3 separate regions of the Homo sapiens genome follow, and all the other regions are linked to region 3. Evidence: promoter capture Hi-C in 16 types of primary human blood cells and fetal thymus (Javierre and others, 2016). All regions are on one chromosome and are shown on one strand. Each heading gives the region's core, a stretch centred on a gene start or on the middle of the fragment in contact. The rest is flanking DNA. Distances are from core to core; before and after follow the strand shown.

The links. The method cuts DNA at HindIII sites, captures the fragments that hold promoters and counts their contacts. A CHiCAGO score of 5 or more calls a contact.
Region 1: a fragment that was not itself captured here is called in contact with the fragment with the promoter of ADORA1 in region 3 in 2 of 17 cell types (M1 macrophages and M0 macrophages); the score reaches 6.0 in M1 macrophages.
Region 2: a fragment that was not itself captured here is called in contact with the fragment with the promoter of ADORA1 in region 3 in 1 of 17 cell types (M1 macrophages); the score reaches 6.6 in M1 macrophages.

Annotation. Positions count from the first base shown.
Region 1 is chr1:203,030,869-203,033,864 of GRCh38, reverse strand. All of the region lies in intron 1 of PPFIA4 (PPFI scaffold protein A4), which reads right to left. Among named protein-coding and RNA genes, the nearest start is that of PPFIA4, 5.9 kb to the right of the region's middle. The HindIII fragment of the contact is 4,311 bases long and covers 1-2,996 here.
Region 2 is chr1:203,052,369-203,055,142 of GRCh38, reverse strand. It overlaps PPFIA4 (PPFI scaffold protein A4), which reads right to left. Exons shown (of 30, transcript NM_001304331.2): 15 at 1,182-1,390. Among named protein-coding and RNA genes, the nearest start is that of PPFIA4, 27 kb to the right of the region's middle. RefSeq lists an enhancer at 1-594. The HindIII fragment of the contact is 5,243 bases long and covers 1-2,774 here.
Region 3 is chr1:203,126,348-203,129,173 of GRCh38, reverse strand. ADORA1 (adenosine A1 receptor) reads right to left here and starts at 1,448. Exons shown (of 4, transcript NM_000674.3): 1 at 1,246-1,448; 2 at 742-896; 3 at 1-389. The coding sequence starts at 332. RefSeq lists an enhancer at 744-1,724. The HindIII fragment of the contact is 5,732 bases long and covers 1-2,826 here.

The DNA of each region.
Region 1 (2,996 bases), core at 344-2,843, 95 kb after region 3:
TTACAGGTGCACGCCACCACATCTGGCTATTTTTATTTTTTTTATTTTTAGTAGAGATGGCATTTCAGCATTTTGGCCAGGGTGGTCTTGAACTCCTGACCTCAGCTGTCTGCCCACCTCGGCCTCCCAAAGTGCTAGTATTATAGGTGTGAGCCACCACACCTGGTCTGAAAATTAAACCTTCTTGAGAGCAAGATGGGGGCTGCTCCTGTCTTGAAAGGCAGACTCCAGAGCAGCTGATGATGCAGGTGACCCTGGGAAGATCCTGAATCTCTCTGAGCTTCCATTCCCCAACCTCTGTGAATGGGAATGATAACAGTACCCACCTCAGACAGCTGGGACACAGGATGTCTAGAGTCAGCCTACACAAAGTGCTGAGATCAGCACCCAGCAAAACTCGGTAAGTGTTCATGAACTCTCAGCACCCTAGGCTCCCAAAGCGCCTCAAGGCTGGGCCCACTGAACTACAATAAGAAAATTACAAATCTATTCTGGCTACAGGAAGCCATTCCCAGAGAAAAAACTCTTGGAAAAGCCCCACTTAAGAGTTTCCACTGCTAGCCACAGATCCCTTCAAAAGCATCCAGTTCTCTGGGCCCCCAACACGACTAGCAGTGAGACTTTACCCCTCTGTGATCAGGTTCCCAAATCTGGAAAATGAACATTATAACACACAATACGCTCCAGTGCTCTCACAGGTTGTCATGAGGCTCAAAGAGGTAACAGACATGAAACAGTTCTGAGAAGTATAAAATGCCGCCCAAGCACAGGTTAGTACCAGCTGCCGAATACACTCAGCCTCCTAATGCCAGGCTCATTCAGGGGACACGGAAGGAAGCATCTGTTCAGACAGGCTCCCCTGGGCCTGAGTCTGTGAAGCCCAGCTCTCCAGCTGCTCCCCAGGAGTTAGACATGGGCCACCTCTTCCCAAGACATGGCCTATCACTTGAGTGAGCACAGAACTTACTGTCTAAACCATGATCCTCTTGGTTTAGAGGGTCATGGTTTAGACAGTAAACCACTGTTAACAATCACACCAGAACACAGGTTTCACCTAGCCATATGGTCACCCTTGCCATTGCCACCCTAGTAGGACTAATGTCAAAACTAATGGGGAAGGCCGGGCATGGTAGCTCATGCCTCTAATCCCAGCACTTTGGGAGGATGAGGTGAAAGACTGCTTGAGCCCAAGAGTTCAAGACCAGCCTAAGCAACATGGTGAGACATCCTCTCTTAAAAAAAAAAAAAAAAAAAAAATGTTAGCTGGGCACAGCGGCATGCGTCTACAGACTACAGTCCCAGTTACTCAGGAGGCTGAAGTGGGAGGATCACTTAAGCCTAGGAGATGGAGGCTGCAGTAAGCCAAGATCACACTACTTACTCCAGCCTGGGTAACAGAGCAAGACCCTATTTCAAAAACAACAACAACAACAAAAAAGCGGGGAAGGGAGAACTACAAGCCTCTGGGCCCCCATCCGCAAATAGTTCCTCTTCTGAAATACCCAAAATTATAGACATCACACCTACCTTTTTAACTTAAGACTGGTGTTTGCAAACTAGGCTTTACGACAAAGTACCTTTAGGGGCAGTCCAAGGCCAAAAGGAGGGTGAAGAGGTGTGACAAACTCAAAAGGCTCTAAATTCCCTTTTCTTACTTTAATCCCATCAACTCCTAATCTGTCCGTTTTATGGGACATCTGATTAAGGTTTCAATTGTATAAAAGGATTCCAAGTCCATGAAGAGGTTAGAAAATCCCTAGTTTAAATATTGTCTACAGAAGCCCCCTGCTAAAACACACACACACACACACACACACACACACGTTCTCTCAGAAAGGCTGTACATCAGTGCAACAGTGACAACCCTGGGAATGCTACACAAGTAACACCAGGAGCCAACCATTTTCCACACTCTAACTGTCTAATAGAGATCATATAGTTACTAAGTCAAAATATGAGTCTGCACCACCGAATACAGACACAGCTTTTGCTGAACTTACATCATTAAGTACATTCCCAGAGAAAACCCTAGACATCTTCTGCTAATCAGAGCCATTAATCAACACAAATGTCCTCAAATAATGTTTGCAGAAGAAGAAACAAAGTAATAAGCATAGCAAATTTGGAGAATAAAAATATTTCAAAACTAGGGATCCATGTGGGACAAATATTAAACAGGGTCCTCTGGTGGTAAAAAAATGCTCAAAGTCACTGCATTCGTAGATCAACCCATCAGATTAGGGAGCCATCGCAGAGGAGAGAAGAGGACGGGTCCGGAGTGCTAATAGGCACCAGGTGTAAAATGTCCAGAGTACAGAACTGCAGGGAGGAATGTAGGCATCATAAAAAATGTGCATTAGTATGTGGTCACAGAAGTGGCGGGCAGTACGAAAAGAGAATGGGGGGGTGTCATGTGTCGTCATGCAACAGAGTGTGTGTGTGATCATGAGAACGCATGGTATATATGTGTGGCCATGAAAAAGGAAGAGAAGCCAGTGCAGTGGTAGTTCATGCCTCGGGCATAAGCCCTCGGTGCAGTAGCACTTTGGAAGGCCAAGGCAGGGAGATTGCTTAAGCTCAGGACTTAGAAACCAGCCTGGGCAACATGGCAAAACCCCATCTCTACTAAAAATATGAAAACTAGCTGGGCATGGTGGCATGCACCTGTATTCCCAGCTACTCGGGAGACTGAGGTGGGAGGAGCACTTGAACCCAGGAGGTTGAGGCTGCAGTGAGCCATGATCATGCCACTGCACTCCAGCCTGGGCAATAGGGAGAGAGAGGGGAAAAGGGGACCGAGAGAGAGAGAGAGTATATGTTGTATGTATGTCTGTGTATAAAGGTATGGTCATAAGAATGGCATCCTGAGAGCACAGGCATGAGAGCAAGTAGGTATATAGACTCATGACAGTGTGTAGATGTGTGTGGTCATAAGTACATCAGGGATCTTGACTGCATATAATTGTGGTCATGAGAACACATGTGTGGGTACACAG
Region 2 (2,774 bases), core at 47-2,546, 74 kb after region 3:
CAGGTATTTTGCTGTCTGTGCCTCAGTTTCCCAACATATGCTATGTCTGAAGTGGTATAAGTCAGCAGTTTCCAAGTGTAGGACTTTTAAATGATGCTGACCCCTGGTGGGGTTTTCCCTGTTCCACAGAAAAATGAGAGAAATAATAAAAATGGTACACGTGTGTGCCTGGGAGGCACTCAGCAAGGAGTGCATGCACACGCACACACACACACTCTCTCACACACACATGCTCCAGTAAAGATGCCCACTCCCTTTCACAAAGAAGGACTCGCCTTTATTCTGAGTATGTCTTTCTTACTTCAGGAATGTTAAAATGTCCTTTCTTTTGCAAAATGATTGCGATAATAGATAGTCATTATCATTAATGTTTTACTTTGCAAAATAAAAAGCTGGTGGTCCTACGTTTGTACCTTTCTCTCTCTCTCTCTGTGTGTGTATGTGTGTGTGTGTGTGTGTGTGTGTGTGTGTCTTCTTTGTAACTGGTCTGTGCAATACATTGAACCATTGAACTGGATGTCCTGTACAGCTTATAAAGCTCTGATACACTCCAGCTCAGATATTGCCCTGCTGTTTGTCATTAACATTAATAAACTCATTAAAAAGGCAGGACAAAGTGAAGGTTTTCACAACGTTCCCTGTCACTGTTTCTGTTTGATGCCTTATTAGGGACAGGAGGCATGGTGCAGTGGGCCAAGTTCAGACTTGAGTTTGAATCCTGGCTCTGTCACTTCTGTGTGGCTTTGGGCAAGTCACTTAACCTCTCTGAGTTTCTGTTCCCTTGTCTGTAAAACAGGGATCATGCTGCCTACCTCAGGCACTGTGGTAAGATGGACAGTGACATTTACAAAGCTCTCACCCTGAGCTAGCCTCAGTAAGCAGGAGCTACACTCTTAGTGGTTAAGATCAGCTGCAGGGCTGCAGGAACACAGCATGCATCCTCCTGAGCCCAGCCACATCGCAAGCCCTGAGAGGGGAGGTGAAGCCTGAGAAGTCCACTGAGGCCCTGCTCCTCTCACTCCGGCACTGGCAGCGGGCCTGATGACCCACAGAGGGTCCCTGAACTGTGGTACTCTAAGTTGCAGCTATAAGAGTTGGGCAAACCCATATAGGGTTTTTCCAACACAAAGGGCCCCCCTGCCCTTCAATGCACTTCCCAAGCCCTCCAGCCCTGCCCTAACCTGATTTCCTCATTGATGGCATCCAGCTGCTCCTGCAGCATCATGGCCAGGGTCTGGGCATCTGAGTGGCCGCTGGGGGAGACAACATCCGCAGAGCCCACCAGACCCCCTGGCTCATCCTCATCCACGTCGGAGATCTCAGGGTCACTGTCAAAGGCAGGGCCAGCTGCCGGGGCCAGCATCCCAGGCAGTGGAGAAGTCTCCCAGTCCTTAGCAAAGGAGGAGGGTAAAGGAGTCGTAATAAGACACCCAGATAACTGCAGAGCAGGACCCTCCCTACCTCTACCCACCAGCACTGGCATCTCCTGGGAGCTTGCTGGAAATGCAGAATCTCAGGCCGCACCACCAGACCTACTGATTCAACATCTGCATTTTAACAAGACCCCTGGGTGGTTTTTTGGTTTTTGGTTTTTGGTTTGTTTGTTTTTTGAGATGGAGTCTCCCTCTGTCACCCAGGCTGGAGGGCAGTGGCGTGATCTCGGCTCACTGCAACCTCCGCCTCCCAGGTTCAAGCAATTCTCCTGCCTCAGACTCCCGAGTAGCTAGGATTACAAGCGCACGCCACCACGCCCGGCTGATTTTTTGTATTTTAGTAGAGACGGGGTTTCACCATGTTGCCCAGGCTGGTAGTGAACTTCTGAGCTCAAGCAATCCACCCACCTCAGCCTCCCAAAGTGCTGGGATTACAAGCGTGAGCCACCGTGCCCGGCTGACCCCTGGGTGATTTGTTTGCACATTACAGTCTAAGAAATACTGCTCTAACTGTTAAGAAGAGAATCCAGAGAGAGACGGCTTTGGTTTGAATCTCATCTCCACCAAACACTAGTTGTGCAACCATAGGAACATTTTTTAACCTCTCTGTGCCTCAGTTTCTTCATCTGTAAAATAGGGATGGTAAAGTACTTACCTCATAGATAGCTGTGAGGATCAAATGAGGAAAATACATGTAAAGCCCTTAGCACTGTGCCTGGCACAAAGCAAGCACTACATAAATGCTATCAGTTTCCATCCATACAAACTCAAAGGCTGACTACACCCAGAGAACAGAAAGGCCAAGCAGGCCTGAATAGACAGTCTGCAGAGTTTCAGATCATCACAGGACAGTCTGGTCAACCCTGAGAGGCGGCAGCTTCTCTGAAATCATCCTACAAACCTATCCAGCGGACAAAGGCCCAGAAGAGGGGAGGGTGGAGAACAGAAGAGTAGAGAAGGAAGGAAGGGAGCCAGGGACAGAAAGGTACTCTAACACCCATCCTCTATGACCCAAGCCCCCTAGCTCCCCTTCAGGCTCCTGCAGCCTCTCAGCTCCTGGATAGCTGCTATATTCTTATAAACAGAAAGAGCAAAGAAGTCGGGGGAGAAAGAAAAAGAGGCACCTTCAGACTGTGACTCCCCCATCGGACTGAGGATTTCTTAAGGGCAGAGTGAATCTTCCCCTGAGACTAGGAGTTCCCTCTTTCTCCATCTATATCTTCTAATACCCCAGTGCTCTAAATGATATTTAGAGGACCTGGATTCAGGACAGAGCATGACGAATAATTGCACTTTCCCAAAAGATCAAACTCGGCATTTTTCTGCCCCATATCTTTCCTC
Region 3 (2,826 bases), core at 199-2,698:
ATCTTGACCCGGAGGTAGCGGTCCACAGCAATTGCCAGCAGGGCCAGGATGGAGCTCTGGGTGAGGATGAGGACCGGACAGGCAACCATGAGGCAGGTGTGGAAGTAGGTCTGTGGCCCAATGTTGATGAGGATGGCGAGGGGGATGACCAGGGCACCCACGGCCACATCAGCCACCGCCAGCGACACGATGAAGCAGAAGGTGGCATCCCGCAGCGCCTGGTTCACCTTCACCGCCCAGATCACCAGCACGTTCCCGGGCACAGAGACCAGGGCGATGAGCACCTCGATGCCGATGTAGGCGGCCTGGAAAGCTGAGATGGAGGGCGGCATGGCGGGCACAGGCTGGGCACATCAGCAGACGGGCACCAAGGGGCACGAGGCAAGCACCTGTGTGGTCAGGGAAGCCTGGGATGGGGAGACCCGTCTGGGAGGGGCAGGGAGCTCAGGCTGCCCTGGAACTCCAGGTACCCTGTGATGTGTCCCACTTGTCACATGCAGCTCCTACCCAGGCTGGAGGGGCACCCGGACCCTTCTCTGCCTAATCTTTGTCCCTTCCCTTTATCATTCCCAGAGGTTCCATTCAGCAACTTAAAATAGCAGCGCTCACTCCTCCACTGGCTTTTTTATCAGGTGTGAGGCAGCTCCCAGCGCGCGCGCACACACAGACACACGCACAGAGGGGTCTCCCATGACTGGCTCTGCCCACCCCTGTGCACAGAACAGGATGCAGGGAGCTCACCATCCTGCCTGCTGGCCGGCAGGGGTCCCAGAGGCAGTGCCCAAAGTTCCAGGGAACAGAGCTCCGGGCCGCGCGCGGTAGGGCTGGGCTGGGCTCTGGACAACGCGCGGCAGCTCATAGTCCTCCGGCTCCCGCCGCAGCGCTCCCAGCCCGGCCTTTCAAGCAATCACATGGTACGGCAGAGACTCAGCCCCGGACGCTTTTAAAGAGGTAGCGCCCCTGTTTCGCACCTGGGACTGGGGTGGCAGACGTGGGTCTGGGGACGGAGCCCAGGACAAGGCTGGGGCGTTTCTCCCTATTCCCCAGCGTGCCCGCACCTGCCCTGCGCCCACCCACTTGAGACCCGTCTGGTGCCTGGATCTTAGCAGTCCTCTGGTCCCGTTCCAGCTCTGTCGGGGAACCTTGCCCATGGCCTGCCCCAAGGGGGCATTCCGGTCTCTTCTTTCAACCCTCTCCTGCACCCCCATTGGGGAGCCCCAGGGGTGAACCGAGACTCAGACTTACCCAAGGTCACCAAAGCTGGCAGAGCTCCCGGCTGCCTGACTGTTCTGTCCAAGTGCCCCCACACCTCGACGCCTTCAGCAGCCGCTAGCTCCAGGGATTCCTGGGGAAGCCAAGGCCGGCCGGTAAGCTCCAGAGGGATGGTAGCTGGCTGGGACTCGACTCGGGCGCCTGCGGCTCTGTCGCCCCCGGCGCAGGAGCTGAGTGACAATCGGGCTCCGCACACCGGGAGGGGGCGGGGGCGGCGGCGGCACCCGCCAGCCCCTCCCTCCTCATCCTCCGTCTCCTCCCCCACCCCCTCCTCTTAACAAAGGAAGTGATACTGGGTGAGAAAAGCTGGAAAAAATGTGAGCTTTTCGAAGGGCCTGGTGTGTGCGCCCAGCCTCAGGACTGGACAGAGGCGCATCCTTCCTGTGTCCACTCTCTCCCTTCTCAATGCAGGACTCCTGGGAGCCCTGGTCTGGCCTCCAGCGACCCCTCACCCCTCACGGCACAGCATCTCTTCTGCAGGACTTCAGAATGCCCCCTCTGGGATCTCCCAAAGCAGTCGGTAGCCCTGGCACCCTCCCCCAATCCTAAAACCCTGCTCTCTCCATGAAACCAGTCCCTGCATCTTCTCATCCCATATTGTTTTGCAGGCTCTACCCTGAGTCATTATATTCCTTTCTCATCCATCTTTCAGAATTGCCTTTTAGTCTATTAGCAATTTCTATTTTGCAGATAAGGATGCTGAGGCTCAGGGAAGTGACCTAGCTTCCCAGGATCTCCTGGCAGTGTAACCCGCTCTGCGCTCCTTTTCCTTCCTCCTTCTTCCTCTTCATAGCACAGCGCTAAGCCATAAGGCATCCAGTCCAATCCCCTCATGTTACAGATAAAGAAGCAGGCTCAGGGAAGCAAGGGACTTCCGGAGGGTCACAGGGCAAATCCTAACAGGACCAAAATAAGAATCCCAGGCTCCTGACTCTCTCCACTGGGTCCAGACCCCTCCCCTGGCCACCTTCTGCCAGTTTCGGTTTAGGCAGTCCACTGATATTAACTAATGACCAGACCCTGGACATGGATGGATGCCTCGCAGAGATCCCAACCTGAGAAATCCTTGTTTGTGGGTATTGGGCAAGGGTTCTAGGAAGGCAAAGAGAGTCAGGCTGGGGACCCCAATGTTAGCTAGCCACAACCCAACCTGGCCTCTGGGGGTACTGCCCCCCTCACTGGATCTCAGAATGCAAGGAAAAGGGTTCTGCCCAGAGGAGGGTGGGCACGTTGCTCCCATTGGGGGCTGCACTGAATCACAGTGAGGAATGATGTGGGACCCGGAACCTGGGTAGCTGGGAGGCAGGGAGGAAGGGCAGTTGAGTCTTCTGAGGAGGAGGGGGAAGCCCTCTGTGGGGAAAAATAACTTCCATTTCTGCCTTTAGGGGGAGCAAGGAATCAGTGCCTCAGACAGCAAAATTACATTCCTTCCCTAGAAGCTAGTTGGAGAAATTAGGAAGTGTAAACTCTCCTTCCTCCTCGTCCCCTTGCACTTCCCCTGCTGACTTTGTCAACACGCCCAACAGCACCTGACGTCCTGCCTACTCCCCCTGC